Regions from separate parts of the Homo sapiens genome. Here all the other regions are linked to region 5. Evidence: promoter capture Hi-C in 16 types of primary human blood cells and fetal thymus (Javierre and others, 2016). All regions are on one chromosome and are shown on one strand. Each heading gives the region's core, a stretch centred on a gene start or on the middle of the fragment in contact. The rest is flanking DNA. Distances are from core to core; before and after follow the strand shown.

What was found. The method cuts DNA at HindIII sites, captures the fragments that hold promoters and counts their contacts. A CHiCAGO score of 5 or more calls a contact.
Region 1: a contact is called between a fragment that was not itself captured here and the fragment with the promoter of LPIN2 in region 5, in 2 of 17 cell types (activated CD4 T cells and total CD4 T cells). The highest score is 7.4, in activated CD4 T cells.
Region 2: a fragment that was not itself captured here is called in contact with the fragment with the promoter of LPIN2 in region 5 in 5 of 17 cell types (activated CD4 T cells, total CD4 T cells, non-activated CD4 T cells and 2 more); the score reaches 7.3 in activated CD4 T cells.
Region 3: a contact is called between a fragment that was not itself captured here and the fragment with the promoter of LPIN2 in region 5, in 4 of 17 cell types (activated CD4 T cells, total CD4 T cells, neutrophils and 1 more). The highest score is 7.2, in activated CD4 T cells.
Region 4: a fragment that was not itself captured here is called in contact with the fragment with the promoter of LPIN2 in region 5 in 1 of 17 cell types (naive CD8 T cells); the score reaches 5.1 in naive CD8 T cells.
Region 6: a fragment that was not itself captured here is called in contact with the fragment with the promoter of LPIN2 in region 5 in 4 of 17 cell types (non-activated CD4 T cells, naive CD4 T cells, neutrophils and 1 more); the score reaches 7.5 in non-activated CD4 T cells.
Region 7: a fragment that was not itself captured here is called in contact with the fragment with the promoter of LPIN2 in region 5 in 1 of 17 cell types (activated CD4 T cells); the score reaches 5.3 in activated CD4 T cells.

Annotation. Positions count from the first base shown.
Region 1 is chr18:2,707,568-2,710,520 of GRCh38, reverse strand. It overlaps SMCHD1 (structural maintenance of chromosomes flexible hinge domain containing 1), which reads right to left. Exons shown (of 48, transcript NM_015295.3): 16 at 2,876-2,953; 17 at 2,601-2,714. Among named protein-coding and RNA genes, the nearest start is that of SMCHD1, 53 kb to the right of the region's middle. The HindIII fragment of the contact is 2,132 bases long and covers 535-2,666 here.
Region 2 is chr18:2,685,810-2,688,652 of GRCh38, reverse strand. It overlaps SMCHD1 (structural maintenance of chromosomes flexible hinge domain containing 1), which reads right to left. Exons shown (of 48, transcript NM_015295.3): 6 at 145-259; 7 at 1-25. Among named protein-coding and RNA genes, the nearest start is that of SMCHD1, 32 kb to the right of the region's middle. The HindIII fragment of the contact is 3,334 bases long and covers 1-2,843 here.
Region 3 is chr18:2,724,275-2,727,399 of GRCh38, reverse strand. SMCHD1 (structural maintenance of chromosomes flexible hinge domain containing 1) reads right to left here. Exons shown (of 48, transcript NM_015295.3): 21 at 2,405-2,501; 22 at 876-948. Among named protein-coding and RNA genes, the nearest start is that of SMCHD1, 70 kb to the right of the region's middle. The HindIII fragment of the contact is 5,322 bases long and covers 1-3,125 here.
Region 4 is chr18:3,304,341-3,307,114 of GRCh38, reverse strand. No RefSeq gene overlaps it. Among named protein-coding and RNA genes, the nearest start is that of MYL12-AS1, 43 kb to the right of the region's middle. The HindIII fragment of the contact is 5,888 bases long and covers 1-2,774 here.
Region 5 is chr18:3,011,812-3,014,596 of GRCh38, reverse strand. It overlaps LPIN2 (lipin 2), which reads left to right and starts at 1,453. Exons shown (of 20, transcript NM_001375808.2): 1 at 1,453-1,510. RefSeq lists a silencer at 1,063-2,012. The HindIII fragment of the contact is 8,581 bases long and covers 1-2,785 here.
Region 6 is chr18:2,652,366-2,655,155 of GRCh38, reverse strand. It overlaps the pseudogene CBX3P2. Among named protein-coding and RNA genes, the nearest start is that of SMCHD1, 2.0 kb to the left of the region's middle. RefSeq lists an enhancer at 622-1,251. The HindIII fragment of the contact is 2,993 bases long and covers 1-2,790 here.
Region 7 is chr18:2,669,300-2,672,178 of GRCh38, reverse strand. All of the region lies in intron 3 of SMCHD1 (structural maintenance of chromosomes flexible hinge domain containing 1), which reads right to left. Among named protein-coding and RNA genes, the nearest start is that of SMCHD1, 15 kb to the right of the region's middle. The HindIII fragment of the contact is 3,598 bases long and covers 1-2,879 here.

The sequences.
Region 1 (2,953 bases), core at 351-2,850, 300 kb after region 5:
GTTCACGGATTGAATGACTTACAATTGCTAAGGTAAAAATAATACTCAAAGTGATCTGCATATTCAGTGTAATCCCTACCAGGATCGCAATGGTGTTTTCTGCAGAAATAGAAAAACGCATCCTACATTCATAGGGAATCTCCATGGACCCAAATAGCCAAAACAATCTTAAAAAACAAGAATAAAGTTGGAGGACTCACACCTCCTCATTTTAAAACTTACAAAGCTACAGTAAACAAAAACAGTGCAGCATGGGCATATGAACAGACATATAGACCTAGGGAACAGGGAGCCCAGAAATAAATTCTCACATATGTGGTCAACTGACTTTCAACAAGTGGGCCAAAACAATTCAATAGAGAAAGTATAGTCTTTGACAAATGGTGCTGGAAAAACTGGATATCTACAGGCAAAAGAAGTTTTCCATATAAAAAGAAGTTAACCATATGCAAAAGTCAAGGTCAGATGGATCAAAGTAATAACAACAGAGCTAAAGCTATAAAATTTGTAAGGAAAAAACATTCAGGAAAAGCTTCGTAACACTGAATTTAGTAACAATCTCTTGGATAAGACACCAAAAGCACAGCCAACAAAAGAAAAAAGAAACTAATTGTTTGTCAAAATTAAAAAGTTTTGTGCATCACAGTCACCATTGACAAAGTGAAAAAGCAACCCACAGAGTGGAAGAAAATATCTGTAAATCATTTATCTGATAAGGGATTAATATCCAGGATTATAAAGAACTCTTACAACTCAACAACAAAATTTAAAAATGGCCAAAGGACCTGAATAGACCTTTGTCCAAAGAAGATATACAGATGGCAATTAGCCCATAAAAAGATGGCCAAAATCACTGAATATTGGGGAAATGCAAATCAAAACCACAATTATCTTTAGTAGGAAAAAGGGGGGAAAAAACCACAGTAAGATACCACTTCATATCTGTTAGGATGGCTATTATCCGTCCCCCACAAAAAAACCCACAGGAAATAACAAGTGGGGGTGACATGGAGAAACTGGAATGTACAATGAGGCAACCACTGTGGAAAACAGTACGGCAGTTTCTCAATAAATTAAATAATAATATGACCCAGCAAGTCCACTTTTGGGAATGTATCTAAAAGGAACCAAAGCGGAGACTCAAAGAACTATTTGTACACTGATGTTCACAGGAGCATTCTTCACGATAGACAACAGGTGAAAGTAACCTGAGTATCCATCAAACAAATGGATAAACAAAATATGGTGTATGTGTATACATGTGTGTGTGTATATATATATATATATACACATATACACATATATACACACACAAGGGAATATTATTCAACCTTAAGAAGGAATGGGAATTCTGACACACTATGCTAAGCGAAACAGGCCAGACACAAAGGACAAATATAATTCCATTTTTATGAGGTACCTAAAATAGTCAAATTCAGAGACAGAAAGTTAAAAAGTAGTTACCAGGGCAGGGAGAAAGGAGTGATGAAGAGTTATTACTATAGAGTTTCAGTTTGAAATGATGAAAAAATGCTTTACATGGATAGTGGTAATGGTTGCACAACAATATGAATGTACTTAATGCCACTTCATAAATTTCATGTTAATATGTTATATATATATATATATATATATATATATATATATATATATGAAGTTATTGAAAATAGAAGCAGGGACCAGCCTGACCAATATGATGAAACCCCATCAAACCCCATCTCTACTAAAAATACAAAAATTAGCTGGGAGTGGTGGCATGTGCCTGTAATCCCGGCTACTCAGGAGGCTGAGACAGGAGAATTGCTTGAACAGGGGAAGCGGAGGTTGCAGTGAGCCTAAATTGTGCCATTATGTATTCCAGCCTGGGCAACAAGAGCGAAGCTCTGTCTCAAAAAAAAAAAAAGCAGGAAGGTCATGAAAGGTGCTGCACTGCTGGCTTTGAAGATGAAGGAATGAGAGTGGTGCTTCTGTGTGATTTATTTATTTTTTAGAGACAGGGTCTTACTTTACCACCCAGGCTGGAGTGCAGTGGCGTGATCATAGCTCACTGTAGCCTCGAACTCCTGGGCTCAAGCAATTTTCCTGCCTCAGCCTTCCGAGTAGCTGGGACTATATAGGCTCGTGCCACCAAGCCCAGCTGAGAGTAACTTCTAAAAGGCAGAAAAGGCAAGGCTCACCCAGAACCTCCAGGAAGAAATGCAGTCCTGAAGACACTTTAATTTTAGCTCAGTGAAACCTGTTTTGGATGACTAATAATACTGTAATCAATACTGTAATTATTACTGTAATTATTAGAACTGTAATAATACATATATGCTTATAGAAATTCCTACTGCAAATTCTTCTACATATATGTATCATGCCTTTACTTTAGCCCAGTTACCCACATGAAAAAATTCAAGATGAAGTATTTTTTAAAAACCTTAGAAAAATATCCACCAAGAAAATGAGCTATTCATAACATTCCTGAAATTCCTAACTTCAATAAAATTTGCTATGCCTATCAGATTGCTAGGTCATCAATAATTACATGAAGATATTTAATTTGATATTATATTTTAAAAACAATATTAAAGATCTAAATTAGTTTGTATACTTACAATGTAAAATAACTTTGAGCTCAACCAGGAGTTTCTTTGACCCTCCATGGCTTGTTCCTGGAAGCTTTTGCATTGCTTCCCCTTTTTTATTCAGTATTTCAATTCTTAACGCACCTATGAGTCAAAAATTAAAAGTATCTTAATTACACCCAAAAATTTGCTGAATCTGCCAAATCTTCCCATTGCATTTTAATATCTCGTGACCTTTTACATATTGGAAATGTAAGACAAAAGAAAAGCACACTTTTTGGTATTAGAAAAATAAACAAACATACCAATAGGGGTTCCAGCAGGCCTAACCTCATTAGGCAATAATTCATCTCCTTCAGGCCAAGTTACTGACAATCTATCAG
Region 2 (2,843 bases), core at 154-2,653, 330 kb after region 5:
GGGAATCTGCAGGTTTGCTTATCATCTGTTAAATATTAAAAAGAGTACTTTTTAAATTCCTAATAAACTGGTTAATGCATTTAGACAGAGTCAACTTCAAAATATTTTGATCAACTTTCATTTATAAGAAATCTTTTTACTTACTCTGGCTGATTGTCCAACAAAGAAGACAGCTTGCTTGCCCCCAACACCAAAATAGGAAATATCACTATTTAAACTGCGTGGCACTGGTACTGGACGAACATATCCTGAATGATCACTAAAATAAAACATTAATGCAGTGATTTTAAACAAGCTAGTTAAGTGTCAAAAGAAACTTTCATTGCACTTGTATTCAGTGTTAATAAAATGATCACGCCTGCAAACACCCCTAACTGAAAGGTGAAATAATCAGTGTCAAGACATCTACTCCAGTGCATCTCAAAGTGTAGTCCCCAGGCCAGATGCATCAGCTTTAGCTGAAAACTTTTAAGAAATGCAAACTCTTGGGCTCAATCCTACTAAATCAGAAAATCTCTCAGCAAACAGGACTAAATAAGTATTTTTATTATCCTCATGCCTCTAAAACTTTCCTTCAAAACTGTTTGCTACTTCAAAACTTGCTAAAATATTGTCTGAAGAATAATGGTAATTAGAGCAAAGGAGAGTCTCACTTCCATATATCATGATAAATGAAGAGCTCTGAGGGAACAGTGCACCATAACAATATTCTGAAGAAGAGGCATCACTGGTCTTTCAAAATGTAGGCAAAGTCTCCGGGGACATCATCCCCCATTATCAGAAATAAACAGAATGAAGGTGAGGCTGGAACCACTATTAAACTCAATGGAAAGATTAAAGAGCAGGTGTGACATAGCTGGAGAGAATTAGAGAACAGAAAGATGCAAAGAACGTAACCACAGGAAACAAAGAAAGAAAAGAAAACTGAAAATATCAAAGTGGCGTTAAAAGACATAAATGACCAAAGGAAAATATCTGGCACAAGATTAAATGCAGCTCTAGAAAGAGAAGGGACAGAGAATGGAAAATAGCTGTAAATATTCTTGAACCAATAAAAGACATGGCTTCACAGATCCAGGAAAACCAAAAGAGCCCAAACAAGATACATAAAAAGAAATCAACATCACTGTAAACACCAAAAACCAAACAGAAGAACTAGAAAATAGACTAAGAGATAAGACAGGACAAAACAGATGAGCAGGCTTTGACAGCAACAGTAAAAGACAGAGAGGAATATTATCTCTATAGTGCCTGAAAAAAATCTGTTAACCTAAAATTGTCAACTAGAGAAAAATAAACAATTTATAGATAAAAACCAAAGTAATTTACCACCAGAAGACTTGTTCTAAAGAAATGTTCCTACAAGCACAATCTAACATACAAGAGGTCACCATAATACAACACATACAAAAGTAATTTTTTTAAGGACTACATATGAGACATTTACTGGTGTGGTGAAAAACTGGTGTGTGCATATTGTTGAATTTCTAAAAAGTCACACTTTAAATACCTTCAATAACAAAAGTGTCATTTCAGGAAGGGAGTGACCAAAGCTAATGAAGTCCTTAAGTTGGGGGAAGGAAAATATTTTAAATCCTGAAATCTAAAGTTAAATATGCATGTTAAAACTTCAAAGAAGATCAGAGAAGATATAAAGTCTAAAATATTAAAAAGAAAAAGATGGAGCAAGAAAACAAAACAGCAGAAGACAATAAATTTAAGAGAAAACAGAAGAAACAGAAACAGAAAGAATGGGATAAACAAAAACATTTTAATTGGTATAAAAAGTCCTATCCTCATATATAAATAATCAAAATAAAGACAACATTGACCAGGTAGGACACTGTAATACCAGAGATACAAAACAACAAAAGCACCCAAAAAAGTATCCCCTCACAATACCCTCCCAACATCTACAATCACATCCCCACACAACATACACAAACTGTCGACACAAAATAACACACAGAAAATGCCTCCCCACACAAGTTTGCATTTATACAAAACACCTCACACAATACACAAACACACAACTACTTTCAACAGAAACACACACCACAATGCTACAAAGCATACACACTGATGATTTAAAAAAAAAATCTTAAAACAAGTCAGAGAAAAACAGACTATATGTTTTGAGATACAAAGATAAGACTGACAACAGATTTCTCCTTATAAACGATGCAAGCTGGTAGAAAATTGAGTGACATATTTAACATACAGGTTTGAGTGCCCCTTATCCAAAATGCTTCGGACCAAAAGTATTTCAGATTTCTGATTTCTTTTCCAATTTTGGAATAGATGCATTATACTTACCACCTGAGCATCCCAAGTCTGAAAATGCAACATCTGAAATGTTCCAGCAGCATTTCCTTAAGTGTCACATTGGTGCTCAAAAAATTTTGGATTCTGGAGCATTTCAGATTTTGTATTTTTGAATTTGAGATGCTCAACTTGTACTTAAATTTTTTGAAAGTCAAGCTCAAACAGATGCTCAGCAAAACTATCTTTGGGGTTTGGGGGGAAGAGAGAGAGCCTATCAGACATACAAAATCTGAAAAAAATTCACCAAGAACAGACTCAAGTTATAAAAGAATGTTTAGAAAGAGCTTCAGAAAGGAAAACAATACTGGACAGATTTACACAAAGGAATGAATACAAGCTCTAGTAAATATGGTAAATATGTGGGTAAACATAAACTGGTTCAGGGACTCAGATTTTGCATGCAAATGTTCATAGCAGCATTATCAAAAGACAAAAGGTAGAAACAACTTGTGTCCATTAATCTATGAACTGATAGACAAAACGCAGTATGGTTGTACAGTGGAGAATTACTCAACCAT
Region 3 (3,125 bases), core at 212-2,711, 290 kb after region 5:
ACAATTCACACTGGAGGGAAATGTCAAACAACTTCAATTTGTGAAAGCAAATAGCTAATATGTTTCTTTTTGCTTAAAACCAGTAAAAAGGTCACATATGCACACAGATATGGTTGTGGTATCTTTCATATGAGAGTTAAAACTTACATGCTAAACACTGTTGTGTTTTACAGGTGCAGGCAGTTCTTACTTGGTACAGTAGGTGTTAATGAAAACTCACGCATATTGGAACTGTGTCCTCCATTGAGTACTACAGAACTGTGCAAGGCAAGGACTACCTGTAGTAACTCATTTAATCCTCCTAACAACCCCAAGGGAGTAGATATTATCTCATTTTACACATGAAGAAACTGAGGCATAGAACGAGTTTACCTAGATACTAACCCAGAAGGGCTGACTCCAGAATGTACTTAAAATCTCTACCATAGACTACCTCTCAAATTAGCCAGCATATTCTACCCTACGTAACTTTAATGCAACTTCATTTTCTCAGGTTAAGTCATTATCAAGTTAACTTAATAAAAATAACATTAGAAGTTTTTCTTCTTAAAATATGAAACAGTTTTATCAACAAAATGTAAAGAACAGACCCATCTCTAATAAAGCCTAATAGACATATTCCAAGAAACAGTTCCCCAAACATTTTCAATATCCAAATTTTTCTCCCAAGGTTATATTCAGAATGTCAATAACATCTTCCTAAATGTTTTCCTTTTTAAAAACTGGTCATTTCTGTCAGTGCTATGGTTTGACATTTAAGTGTATTTTCAAGATTTACACCACTACTAAAAGCCCAAAAACCTCTAACTTCATATCATTATACTTTAACATAAGAAAATTATTTTAAATAATTATATTTCTTGAAATAATATTACCAGGTAGTAATCTAATTTTCAAAATCTGTGAGTCTTCTTTTAAGCCAGGCAGAGTAACCTTCAGATTATAATTCTGTTGGAAAAAAACAGTAAAAATTAAACCCAGTCCTGAATACATACTTAAGTAGTTTATCACATCAATTCTGATTTATATTTTGGTTTTATTTTCATACCATTGTAGAAATTACTTACCAACTTTATACTTACTAAAATTATCATATATGGAGTCAGAAATCTTAGAGGAAAAAAACTGATCAATACTGCTTCCTTATAGACAGTGAAAGGAAGAGAATTATGGTAGAATCTACTTTTCCAAAATAGGAATATCATTTTAGGATCAATTTTTCTCTTAAATTTTTATTCTCAAAAGGCATAACCTCTGAATAATTATCATAATCAAGATAGATATTATAAAACATATGAAATAGTAAAGTAGAAAGAAACAAAAACCAGAAAATTTTGAAATGCAATGTGGTACTCCATATTGGTTCATGGAACAGAAAAATAAATTAACTGGAGACAAGTAAAAAAAAGTCCACGGTTTTGTCAGTAGTATTTTGTCAATGTGTGGATAAATATATAAAGCTCTGTAAGACATTAACAGAGGAACTTTCTACATGTAACCTCTCTATACTATCTTCGAACTCCTTTGTAAGTAATTTCCTCTAAAGTTATTTCAAAATAAAAAGGTTTTTAAAATCTAGAAATTTTTAGTAAGTTTATCTTACTAAAGTCAAATTTTCTGTGAATTTCAAGTTCTTTTTCCAGAAAAATCTGAATTCAGAAAGAATCAAGAACTCAATTTTTGACTTGATTATACAAAGCAGCATATAGTACTTGAAAAAAATACACATGCTCTGTTTTAAACATCACACGGATAGGGAAAATTTTTAAATATTTAAAGTAATGATACACTGAAAAAAAACTTGCTACAGTGTTCCTTTTAGTCAGTTAAGTCTATTAGCTGCTTTATAGACCTAACTGAAAAATTACCTTATTAGAGTTTCTATCTTTAGCTTCCCTGTTTTTTTTAGACCAACAAACTATGCATAGGATTCCTTCCTTAACTGTATCTCTCACCAAACACTTCCTTTTATCTAAATACCAAAGTGATATGTTTAAAGATGTGAGCTGAAATTTCTCATATTTCTAATTGTCATTTTTGTTCTAAGAAAAATATTCAAAAGTGGACAGAAACAGTAGGAGAGAGAAAAAAAAAAAACAGCAGAGTCCTAGATAACTATGTCGAAAAAATGGCTTTGAATGTGAAAAAACTGAAGTATAGATAACGGGGAGAGGTGAAAAATATTTAATTCATGTTTAATCAACAACAGTAGTAAATGTGCCAACTTTTCTTACAGATGTAACTGATAAGTCAGGTGGCATAATGCTGATAAATTCCTAAGAACCCAATTACTGTCATCTGTTTTTTAAAAATAGGTCATTCCACTTTTCATTTACAATTTCATTCTTACCATATGATAAATAAATACTTAACAAGTATCATAGGATCTATACATAATGCTTACCTTGCCTTGACAAGAGTTTACAGGGCCCTTGGCTGTAACACCTCGAATTACACAATTTGGTCCTTTGGTTATTTCTTCATAATGTAAAGATAAACCACTGGGGAAAAAAAATTATTTTTTAACTCCCCTCAATTGCCTACAAGTAAGCTGCAAATGTGTTTTTGCTTTCCTATGTGACATTGGCATGTCTAGTTTTCTAATAAAATATTTTTTAAATATAAAAAACTAAACAGAAAAAAATTCCAATGGATTTCTTTTACAAAGAAAATTGATCCAACAAGTATTAATAAGTGATACCAATGGGTTAAACACTGAAAATGATATAATACATATAATGTAAAATTAAAATAGCACATATTGAATTAGTAAAGATACAATGTAGTACCTAATCTAATGCTAGACCATGTATACAAGCCTAAGGAAAGGAAATAAATACCTAAAGAAGCCAGGTTTAAGGATGTCCTCAGCATTTACCATGAATTCTTTCAAATCTTTCACCAGTGGGATTTTAGAGAATTCTGGGCATCTGTTATTAAACTGAATGGCAATTTAGATAAAGTCCAAATAATAACAGACAGGCTTATGATGACATAAACCGAAGACATCACCTAATCTACTTCCATGAGTAATATGGTTCCTAAAGCTGATTCCAAAGCTAATTTCATCAGATTTGACCAGATGTAGATCTTTGCAGTGGCAAAATTTTACTCTGTGAAAGGTA
Region 4 (2,774 bases), core at 196-2,695, 290 kb before region 5:
AACTTTAATTCAGTTCATTGATTATGTTTTTAGTCTTCTCTTATCATATTTATCATATCTTTGATTCAAATAATTTTTACCCAAAATGACTTTATAATTAATGATAATAATGTGCAGCAAGACAGAATATTGATCAATGAAACTTGGAGAAATATGAATGACTAATGTCTCTTGAGCACTTATAATGAGCCAGACACTATGCTAAGTGCTTACCATGAGCTATAATAATCACTGCTCATAACACCCCTGTGAAGCGTGTGCTCGTATTTTCTCCATTTTACAGGTGATAAACATGAGGCTTGAAAGGGTTTACAATTTTGTCCAAAATTTAAAGTAATATATATTTACTTTATATTTTACATGAAATGCTGCCTTGAATTTATTTTGGAATGAGACAGGAATTGAAACTTACATTTTCCCCTAGTTCTGAGATTCCAACCTAAGCAATGTGATTTGATATGTGCCTGTTATTTCCTGTTACTCTTGCTACCTGCCCCACGGGAGAGGACGGAGAGGATGATTCAGAACGCATTTCAGTTGCCTGTGGAAGCCACTTTATGACTTCCCAGTGGATCAGGAGGGACAAGGATAGGGAGGGTTTGGGGGGACAGAGTCACCTCCCCAGTGAATAAAATTGGTATTCCATTTCTGACAAAATGTCATTTGGGCTCAAGAAGAAACCTGTACTTTTTAGAGCATCAGTAAAATTTGTTCAGATTTTTAAATGGATCGGTGTCAGGTATGACTCTATCTGCTCACAGAAGAGTAATCGTAATGAAAAAAGACCTCAATTCAACATCACCAATTCTTCCTGTAACCTAAATACCCTAATGCGGTGGAAACACTACAGGGTTTCTCAAAATGTGTGGGAATGCCAATAACACACACTCGGCAGCAGGCTGACCTTGGGCGAGGGCCAGAGGAGACAGAAGACAAGAAGCAACAGAGCAGAGGAAGCGATGAGCTCAGGTCTGAGGGAGAGGAACCAGAGCCTTATCTGCTGCGTGTGAGTACGAAGCAACCTGTGGCTGGAAGAGGAAATCACATAAACATTTGAACAAGGAGGCTCCCTCTAATCCTTAGAAGTCCGTGCTTGCCCTCTGAATGACTGAAGCCCATAGAAAGATGAAATTTACAACCAAGCCACCGGTTTGCTGCAAACATTAGGGCCACAAGAGACAACCCAGCCTGAAAGGTCAGGGGCCCAAGGTTCCACGGCCCAGAAAGCTCTGGCCACTGTGCTCAAATGTTCCACTGTTGAATCTTTTCTCTTCTTGGTAAAGTTTGGCTTCATGACTGAAAACAAAGTACTGAAACTTGTAAATCACTTACAAATTCTGTTTCCATTTTTCTTGTCTGATATCCAATTATTCCGGAGCCTGGCAACTCTAAGTTCATCTAATTAATCTGAAAATTCAACCTAATTGGCATGTGAATGGTGCGGTATACAAAAGCACCAACACCACATTCCTGCACACAGGTAAATGCACGGGCTGCATTCATGCCTCAGCCGGTAAATGAAAAAACACATCCAGACTACCAAGTGCCTGCCAAGTATGAGAGTGCACGGAAACCCTAGGCCCTGAATAAATGCAGCCATGAGTCACTTAACCACAGGACATGTTCTGTGAAACACATGGTAGGCAACTTTGACACTGTATGAACGTCATAGAGTATACTTACATAAACCTAGATGGTCTAGCCTCCTACACACATAGGCTATACGTGATATCCTACTGCTCTTAGGCTACAAACCTGTACAGTATGTTACTGTACTGAATACTGTCAGCAACTATAACACAATGATAGGTATTTGTGTATCTAAACATAGAAAAGGTAGAGTAAAAATATGACAGAAAAGACTAAAAAATGGTACACTTGTATAGGGCACTTACCATAACTTTTATACCAAAAACTATAAAGATACCAGTGGAAAACTTCCAAATTGTTCAAATGTATATTTTGGAAAGAACATTAAAAGTTACAGAAAAGAAGGTTGTTTCCATGCAGTTCAGAAGATCCAACCATCAGTTTAGAGGGAACAGAAAAATATGGTAATGACATCATGATGCAACCATCAGAATGCAGACTGCAGGCAGCTCTAGACTTTGCTACTCTAAGTGTGGTCCATGGATGGTCAGCATCCACCTCACCTGGGAGCTTGCCAGAAATGCCACATCTCAGACCCACTGCAGATCCCTGCACTAAAGCAGAATCTACTAATTTATTTATGTATTTATTTTTTGAGACGCAATCTTGCTCTTGTTGCCCAGGCTGGAGTGCAGTGGTGCAATCTCGGCTCACTGCTCAACTGCAACCCCCAACTCCTCCTGCTTCAGCCTCCTGAGTAGCTGGGATTACAGGCACCCGCCACCACGCCCGGCTAATTTTTATACTGTTAGTAGATACGGGATTTTGCCACATTGGCCAGGCTGGAGAATCTACTTTTTAACAAGATCCCCAGGTGGTTTGTATACACTTTAGCATTTGAGAAGTAGCACTCTATTGGAGAAGGCACCCAATTTCTTCAACAAATAAATTACAACCAAAAGAAAAAGAGAGAAGGTAATAAATAGATTAAAAGAGGTAAGACAGCCTGAGCAACATGACAAGATCCCATCTCTACAAAAAATTTTTAAAAACTAGCCAGACATGATGATGTGTACCTGTAGTCCCAGCTACTAGGGAGACTGAGGCGGCAGGATCGCTAAGTCTAGGAGTTTGAGACTGAGGTGAGCTATGATCATGCCACTGCACTCCAAGCTGGGTGACAG
Region 5 (2,785 bases), core at 204-2,703:
CCATTTATATAGAAGTAACATAGGCTTCTGTTCATTACTTTCAATCATAGAATAGTAATAGAATAGGCTGCAAATTAAAAACCAGTGTGCACCAATAGTATATAGCACCAGCAATCCAGTTTTTTTTGTTTTTTTTTTTTTTGAGACAGAGTTTCGCTCCCAGGCTGGAGTGAAGTGGCGCAATCTCTGCTCACTGCAACCTCCGCCCCCCGGGTTCAAGTGATTCTACCGCCTCTGCCTCCTAAGTAGCTGGGATTGCAGCCAACATGCCCGGCTAATTTTTGTATTTTTAGTAGAGGCGGGGTTTTGCCACGTTGGCCAGGCTAGTCTCCAACTCCTGACCTCAGGCGATCGACCCGCCTTGGCCTCCCAAAGTGCTGGGATTACCGGCGTGAGCCACCGCGCCGGGCCCCATTTCTTTTCTTTCTGAGACGGAGTCTCTCTGTCGCCAGGCTGGAGTGCAATAGCGCCATCTCGGCTCACTGCAATCTCCGCCTCCCGGGTTCAACTGATTCTCCTGCCTCAGCCTCCTGAGAAGCTGGGATTACAGGCACGCGCCACCACGCCCGGCTGGTTTTTTGTATTTTTAGTAGAGACGGGGGTTTCACCATGTTGGCCAGGCTGGTCTTGAACTCCTGACCTCAAGTGATCCGCCTGCCTCGGCCTTCCAAAGTGCTAGGATTACAGGCGTGAGCCACCCATTTCTTAAAAAGTATATTTTAATGCTGGGGACGGTGGCTCATGCCTGTAATTCCAGTACTTTGGGAGGCCGAGGTGCGGGGATGCTTGAGCCCAGGAGTTGGAGACCAGCCGGGGTAACAGAGCGATAAAAAGAATAAACAAAAAACAACAGAACCCCGGCATATTTTTAAAAATGAGTTGTGTAATAGGATTTTTTTTTTTTCGGTGGAGATGTAAGTAAGCAAAGGAGATGTGCTACTAGTGATCAAAAGGGGATTATAAAACATTCATTCCCTAGACTTTTTTTGCACTTTAACATTCCTTTTTGGCAATTGGGCTCTCAGTCCCACGTGACCTGCCGCAGGGTTGCCATGGGGACCGGAAGAAACTTTTTTTTTTTAAAACAAAGTAAGGCTCCTGTCGCCCGAGGCACTAGAAAATCGAGGCCCCGCCCTCACTTGGCCAGGGGCCCGGGCGCGCAGCCCAGGGACTGGGAGCGGTGAGAAGCCGCACGCCTGGCGCTCGGCGGCGGGGGCGCGGCGCGCGGCCGGGAGCGCGCGTCACGTGGCTGGGGCGGGGCCTGCGCGCTGCCCGCCCGCCAGCTGCCGGCTCGGCCGCCGCAGCCGCGGCGTCCCATTCATGAGGGCCGCCCGACTCAGCTGCGGCCCAGGCGGCTTCCAAGGCAGCGGCGGCTGCGGGCGCTCCGACCCCGCGCGCGCCCCCGACCGGCCCCGCCCCCTCGGCTTCCCTCCCCGGCGGGTCCTAGCCGTCGCAGTCCAGCCGCCGCCTGCCCTCAGCCGCCCGCTGGCCGGGAGCGGAGCCCCTGTGGGTAAGTGGGCGCGGGCCGGGCTCCTCGCAGGCGTCCCTCCGGGGCTGGCGGTGAGTGTCTGCGCCTGGGGGCTTCCCTTGGCGCGGGCCCGGGGCTGTCCTGCCGGAGGCCGGGACCCTCCGGGGCGGCGCGGGTTGAGCCGCCCCTCCTCGCGCCGCGGTCCCCGCTTCCCGGTCCTCGCGTCCCAGTCCCCGCCTCGCCGCGACCGCGCCACGTAGACGCGGCCCCTACCGCCGCCGCCGCAGGACGGACCGGCGGGGTGCGCGGGGAGCCGGGGGCGTCGGGGCGTCAGTGGTGGCTGCTGAGGACTCTGAACCCGCGCAGTTCCCTCGCCGCCGCCCTGGGGATGGTTACCCGAGACCACCCCTACCCCTGGGTTTGGGGCGCGGAGGGGAGTGCGGAAGGCGCGCGGGAGGCCGCGTCTCCATCCCGCCCCCGGCCCTGCGGGAGGGGGCGCCGGGCACGTGATCTGCGGCGAGGCGGGGGCCGCCGAGTTGCTGGTGTTTCTTCCCCGCCGCGCTTTGCCCCGTACCTCCGCCTTCAAGCTGTGTGGACCGGATTCAAATGTGGTTAGTTTTCTCAAAGCCCCCCAGCCCCCGGTGCAGATCTTAATTTGTGAGGAACACGTTCAGATACAGTTTGTACTGAGAGCCTCTCTGTCCACTTCTAACGCCAGCGGATCACCATTTTCTCCACTCGCCTGAACATTTTAAGACTCTTTTCATTGAAAATTCAAGATGACATTTTTTAGGCATAATTATGCAAACCAGTACCAGAAAGATCACCCTTCCTTTCCGAAAAGTACTGGAACTCTGAATACTTGGAAATGCTTTGAAGGACTACTTAGTAAATGGCCAAACTAATTTTTAATGCACATTTGGGGCTTACCCATTTTTTTTTTAATTGAAAACGAGGCTCTAGACTTGGTGTCAAGGTAGGTCCTGTTGAATGAAGTTCTTTACCCAGTAGTGATGATGGGTGTTACTGTTTATTAAAACTTGGCCTGGCTAGATTATAATGTTTTGACAATACAAAGTCGGTTTTGAAATACATTTTGAAATATTTACGAATTATTTAGTGGCCCATACTGGTTTATGTTTTAACGGTCTGGTGTTGATCGTTCTTAGTGGCTTCAGATTGAGAAGAAGTGGCAGGTGATGCTGAAGCGGGGGAGAAGCGGCAGAGCCGGCCACACAGTGCAGGGGATGGAGACAGGTGCTGGGCTGGTCCTCCTGCAGCATCCTCAGTTGTTGGAGGGCAGTCATCCTCAGGCCG
Region 6 (2,790 bases), core at 53-2,552, 360 kb after region 5:
CAGCGTCCCCGCCCCCCGCACCCTCTGGGGGCCCTGGAGCGCCGACGGCATTCGGGGTACGGGGGTGACTCCAGCGCCCTAGTTTTAACGCTGCCTGCGCTTCGCGGTCTCCCACGTGCGTGTAAATTCTGAAAGAACCCACGCCACAGTTACTAGGGTTAAATTAGATGTTCGCAAAATTCTTAAGGCCTAATACGTTTTCAATCAAAGCCTTTAATCGTCGTTACCGGGCAGCGTTTCATTAACTATCCTCATCGTGGGCAGGTAGTGCCCTAACTCAACAAATAAAATGCCATTGTTAGAGGACTAGGTTTACTCTCCAGTTCTTAGAAATCGTGAATACTGTATACTTGAGAGTGGTATGTAAATTCAGAAACCCAAAGGTAGCAGATAGAGGGGTTTTTCAAATCTCAGAATATAAGCCTGGATAATAGTGCGTTTTCTGTTTTACTAGGTTTGCTAAAACCTTATATGGACAGACTTACAAAGTTAGTGTTATGTTAGAAACCTAGATTTGCTTGTGGATGTCAAGACGTTTCAAGATCGTGGGGAATGTGTGTATAAATTGACTACACATATACTAGAGGTAGACACCAACTAGAACGAAATTGTGAAGGCGTGTTTGGGGAACATACATTGTTTGGCTGGAAGTGAGGAGAACTGAGCGGTAGATGGTGGAAGATAAAATTGGAAAGACATAAACTGTGGCCAAATGCCGTTCATGTTCCTTAAGGTGGAGGTGGAGGAAAAGAAAACAAAAAAGTAACCCCCGATTCTAATGGAATTTCTTTGAAGTCTGATGTTTTATTTACCTTTCAAATTCATGCGAATGTCTCATTCTATTCCTTTATATAGTGGTATTTGAGTTAAATGACTCAAAGAAAAACACAAATTGTTTTTCTAATTCTTAGTTAATGGGTAAGATGAATTGCCTCTCTACTTCAGCAAATTGAGATTAGAGCTGGAGATTCGTCATCAGGGCAATTTCTCATTTCTTTGTAATACCAGATTATACAAGCACACCTCTTTCATGTCTTTAGAAGAGATTTCAGGATCATCTCTAAGAGATTTTTTTTTTAATGGTGCCAGAGAAGTGTACTGCAGTATTATGGGCAGCTCTTGATGGGAACATTGATGTCTTACCTTGTTGAGAGATCGAGTCTGAATCAGTTTCTTAATGGCAGTATGGCATCACTTTTGTTCTCAGAATATCAAACAATTTTTTCATCAAAGAAAGATGACGAGTTTGTTCTTTATTTAATTGTCATCACAAGTAAATAAAAGCGTTTGAAATGACCCACTTCCTTAATGAGTTCTCTTCAATTGACTCTTAGTTTTTGTTAATTAGCTATCTTACTACAGAGTAAAATATTTAAGTGGCCTTGTATCAGTTATTTATTGCTACATAACGAACTTCCCCAAAACTTAGTGGCCCCTGAAGAAGTTCCCCATTCCCTTCTTCCTTGCATGTAGCTCAAGTTTGAGTCAGGCAGGATTTGAGATGCCACAGACCCAGACCAGGTGCAGCTCAGAGATGGTGAACGAGATGGTGAACAATAGCTCTTCATGTCTGCAATTAAAAATGGCCTCCAGTAAAACTACAGTCGTCCTTTGGTATCCTTGGGAAATTGGTTTCTGGACCGGGACCCCCATGGATAGGAAAATCCAAGGCTGCTCAAGTCCCTCATATAAAAGAGCGAAGTATTTGCATATAACCTACATACATCCTAGATTACTTATAATACCTAATGCAATATAAATGCTATGTAAATGGTTGTTATACTGTATTGTTTTTCATTTGTATTTTTTTGTTTTATTGTGATTTTAAAATATGTTCTATCCTCGGTTGATAGAATCCAGGAATGCGGAACCCGAGGATACTGAGGGCCACTGTACATTGCAAAAAAATGGGACAAAAGACTTAGTGGAAAGGGTATAAAAGCTGATGAAGCAGAGCCTGAGGATTTTGTGGTGGAAAAAGTACTACACCAAGGTGTGGTGAATGGGAAGGTGGAATATTCCCTGAAGCGGAAAGGATTTACACTTGCTGACAATAATTGAGAACCTGAAGAAAACTTAGATTTTCCTGAGTTCATTGAACTATTTCTTAATCCTCAAAAAAACTGGTAAAGGAAAAGATAGTACAAAAAGAAAATCTTTATCCGAGAGTGAATCTGATGACAGCAAATGAAAGGGATGCTGCTGAAAAACCAGGAGACTTTGCCAGAACTCTTGATCCTAAGCAAAGAATTGGTGCCACAGACTGCAGTGAAGAATTAATGTTTCTAATGGAATGCAAAGACTCAGACGAGGCTGACTTGGTGCTGGCAAAGAGGCAAACGCAAAGGGGCAAACACGAAGTGTCCTCAAATTGCAAATTATTTTTATGAAGAGAGACTAACTTGGCATTCCTGTCCAGAAAATGAAACTCAAAAATTGTTGCACTGCAGTATACTGCCATATAGTGTGTGTGTGTGTAAAACCTAGGTCTTGATTTTCTTATTAGTGTGAAATACTCTATTTTTAAAAAAATAGAGATAGAGTCTCACTATGTTGCCCAGGTTGGTCTCAAACTCTGGGCTCAAGTGATCCTCCTGCCTTGGCTTCCCAAAAGTGCTGGGACTACAGACGTGAGCCACCCTGCCTGGCCAGCTATTTTCTAATGAAATCTATTTTCTACTGCAAAATCTTGTTTTGAAGTAGAATCAAAAGAGTTTTTGGGGTTTGTTTGTTTTGGGTATTTGTTGGGGTTTTTTTCATCAATAGCACTTGTTACTTTTGAACAAGTAG
Region 7 (2,879 bases), core at 162-2,661, 340 kb after region 5:
AGGACAGCTATGTTTATAAACGAATTGCAAAGAAGTTACCACAAATCAGATTATGTACAAGGGTAATCTGGCTAAGGTAATAACTCCAGAAAATGAAGAAGGGACACTGTAGGAAATGGCAGGAAAAGAAACCTAAAGAGAAATTTGGAAGGAAGAAATGAGTAGAATTTAGAATCTGATTAGATGAAAAAGAAGAGGGGAAAAAGAAATTTGCTTCATCACACAGGTACAACAGTTAAGGCTTGGATCAGTTTACTGAAAGTATAAAAAGAAAAGATCAAGGCCAGGCGCGGTGGCTCACGCCTGTAATCCCAGCACTTTGGGAGGCCAAGGCGGGCGGATCTTCAGGTCAGAAGATCAAGACCATCCTGGCTAACACAGTGAAACCCCGTCTCTACTAAAAAAATACAAAAAAATTCGCCAGGCGTGCTGGTGGGCGCCTGCAGTCCCAGCTACTCAGGAGACTGAGGCAGGAGAATGGCGTGAACCCGGGAGGCGGAGCTTGCAGTGAGCCGAAATAGTGCCACTGCACTCCAGCCTGGGCGACAGAGCGAGACTCTGTCTCAAAAAAAAAAAAAAAAAAGAAAAGAAAAGATCAACATAACTTGAAGAAATGTCCACCAGAGTCAAAAAGAACCAGAAGTAGGGAAACAGAAGTAGGGAAAGACCCGGGAATGTACTGTAAAGTCACAGAAATCAAGGCAAGATTTTAAACACTGGGGTTTTCTGCTTATCCATATAATGATGGTATGAATGAAAACTGATACGGTTTTCAACTGATATGGTTTCAACTGATAGGGTTTTCATATCATTTCATAATGATGGCATGATGAAAACTGATCAATATGAAACATAAACTACATTAAGAGTTTAAAATACTTCTGTTGACTCTATAATTATACACTTAGCAATTTATCCCCAGGAAAATAATTAAAGATTCATGGGCCAGGTGCAGTGGCTCACGCCTGTAATCCCAGCACTTTGGGAGGTCGAGACGGGCAGATCGCCTGAAGTCAGGGGTTTGAGACCAGCCTGACCAACATGGAGAAACCCCATCTCTACTAAAAATACAAAATTAGCCAGGTGTGGTGGTGCACGCCTGTAATCCCAGCTACTTGGGAGGCTGAGGCAGGGGAATTGCTTGAACCCAGGAGGCGGAGGTTGCGGTGAGCCGAGATCACGCCATTGCACTCCAGCCTGGGCAACAAGCCAAACTCCATCTCAAAAAAAAAAAAAAAGAATTAAAAGATTCACTCAATTTTCTTTTTTTTTTTTTTTAGATGCAGTCTCCCTCTGGTGCCCAGGCTGGAGTGGCAGTGGCATGATCTCAGCTCACTACAAGCTCCGCCTCCCAGGTTCAAGCGATTCTCCTGCCTCAGCCTCTCGAGTAGTTGGAATTACAGGCACCCACCTCCACGCCTGGCCAATTTTTGTACTTTTAGTAGAGACGGGGTTTCACCATGTTGGCCAGGATGGTCTCGAACTCCTGACCTCAAGTAATCTGCCCGCCGGGGCTTCCCAAAGTGCTGGGATTACAGGCGTGAGCCCAGCCAGATTCACTCAATTTTAAAATATTTAAGCACCTATGTGCCAGGCATTGTTCTAGGAACTGAATAAAGCAGATGAAGGTTCTGTTCTTAGGGATTTAACATTCTAATGGAGGAATATGGGAAAGAAAATATAATCATAATAAATAAATTCTATAGCATGTTAGAAGATGGTTTGTGCAATAGAGAAAAAAGAAACAGCAGAGAAATGAAATCAAGTAACAGTAAAGACACAGAAGGAATACAGTTGCAATTAAATAGACTAAGTTTTGTTGAGAACACAACAGATAACCAAGACTTGGAGGAAGTGAAGAAATGAGTGCAGGGCTAACTGGAGGAAAAGCATTCCAAGCAGAGGGCCCTAAGCTGAGAATATGGATGGCAGTGAAGGGGAGTGAAAAAGTAAGAAAGGTAGTAGAAACAAAGTCAGAGAAGTACAAAGCAGAGCTAGTAAGTCCCTGCAGGCAACTGTAACGACTTTGGTGTTTACTCTTAGTGAAATGGGGAGCCATGGGTGTTTTCAGCAGCGAGTGACACAATCCAATTTCTCAAACCTTTTATGGACAGGGATGAAAAGACAGGTACCAGTAACTACTAGTTAGTGTAATCTGGGTGATACAATGGTGCCTCCAGACCAGGTGGTAGCAATAGAAATGGTGAGAAATGGTCATTTTAAGATAAAACATTGAGAATAGGACCCAAAGGATTTTCTGTCAGATTAAGAGGTATGAGAGGTATGAGAAATACAAGTATCAATTTGATTTTTGGCCTGTGCAGCAGGAAGGACACAGTAATAATCAATTCAGATAGGGGGAACTATGTGTGGTATAAAATTCAGTGAGCAGATGAGGGTTCCCATTTTAGACATCCTAGAGGAGATGCCACATGGGCAGCTGGATGGATAAAACTGGACTTCAAGAGATAAACCCGGCACCATTTTCAATATTTAACTAAAAATGACCATTTCCTACCTCTTCCTTGTGAGAGTCACTTCTGTAATGATGTTATTTAGAACCATGAGATAGGACCTGATCACCAAGTGAGGAAGTAAGATACAACATAAAGGGCAAGAACTAAGCCCTAAGGCACTTCAATATTAATAAGGTGGGGAGAGAAGAAAGGGCAGGCAGTGAGGTAAGAAGAAAATCAAGGTGCTTATAATCCCACGGCTTTGAGAGACCAAGGCAGGAGAATAATTTGAGGCCAGCAATTCAAGACCAGCCTGGGCAACATAGTGAGACTCCATCTCTACAAAGAAAATTTTATTTTTATTTTTATTTTTTAGAGAGAGAGGCTCACTCTGTTGCCCAGACTGAAGTGCAGGGGTGCAGT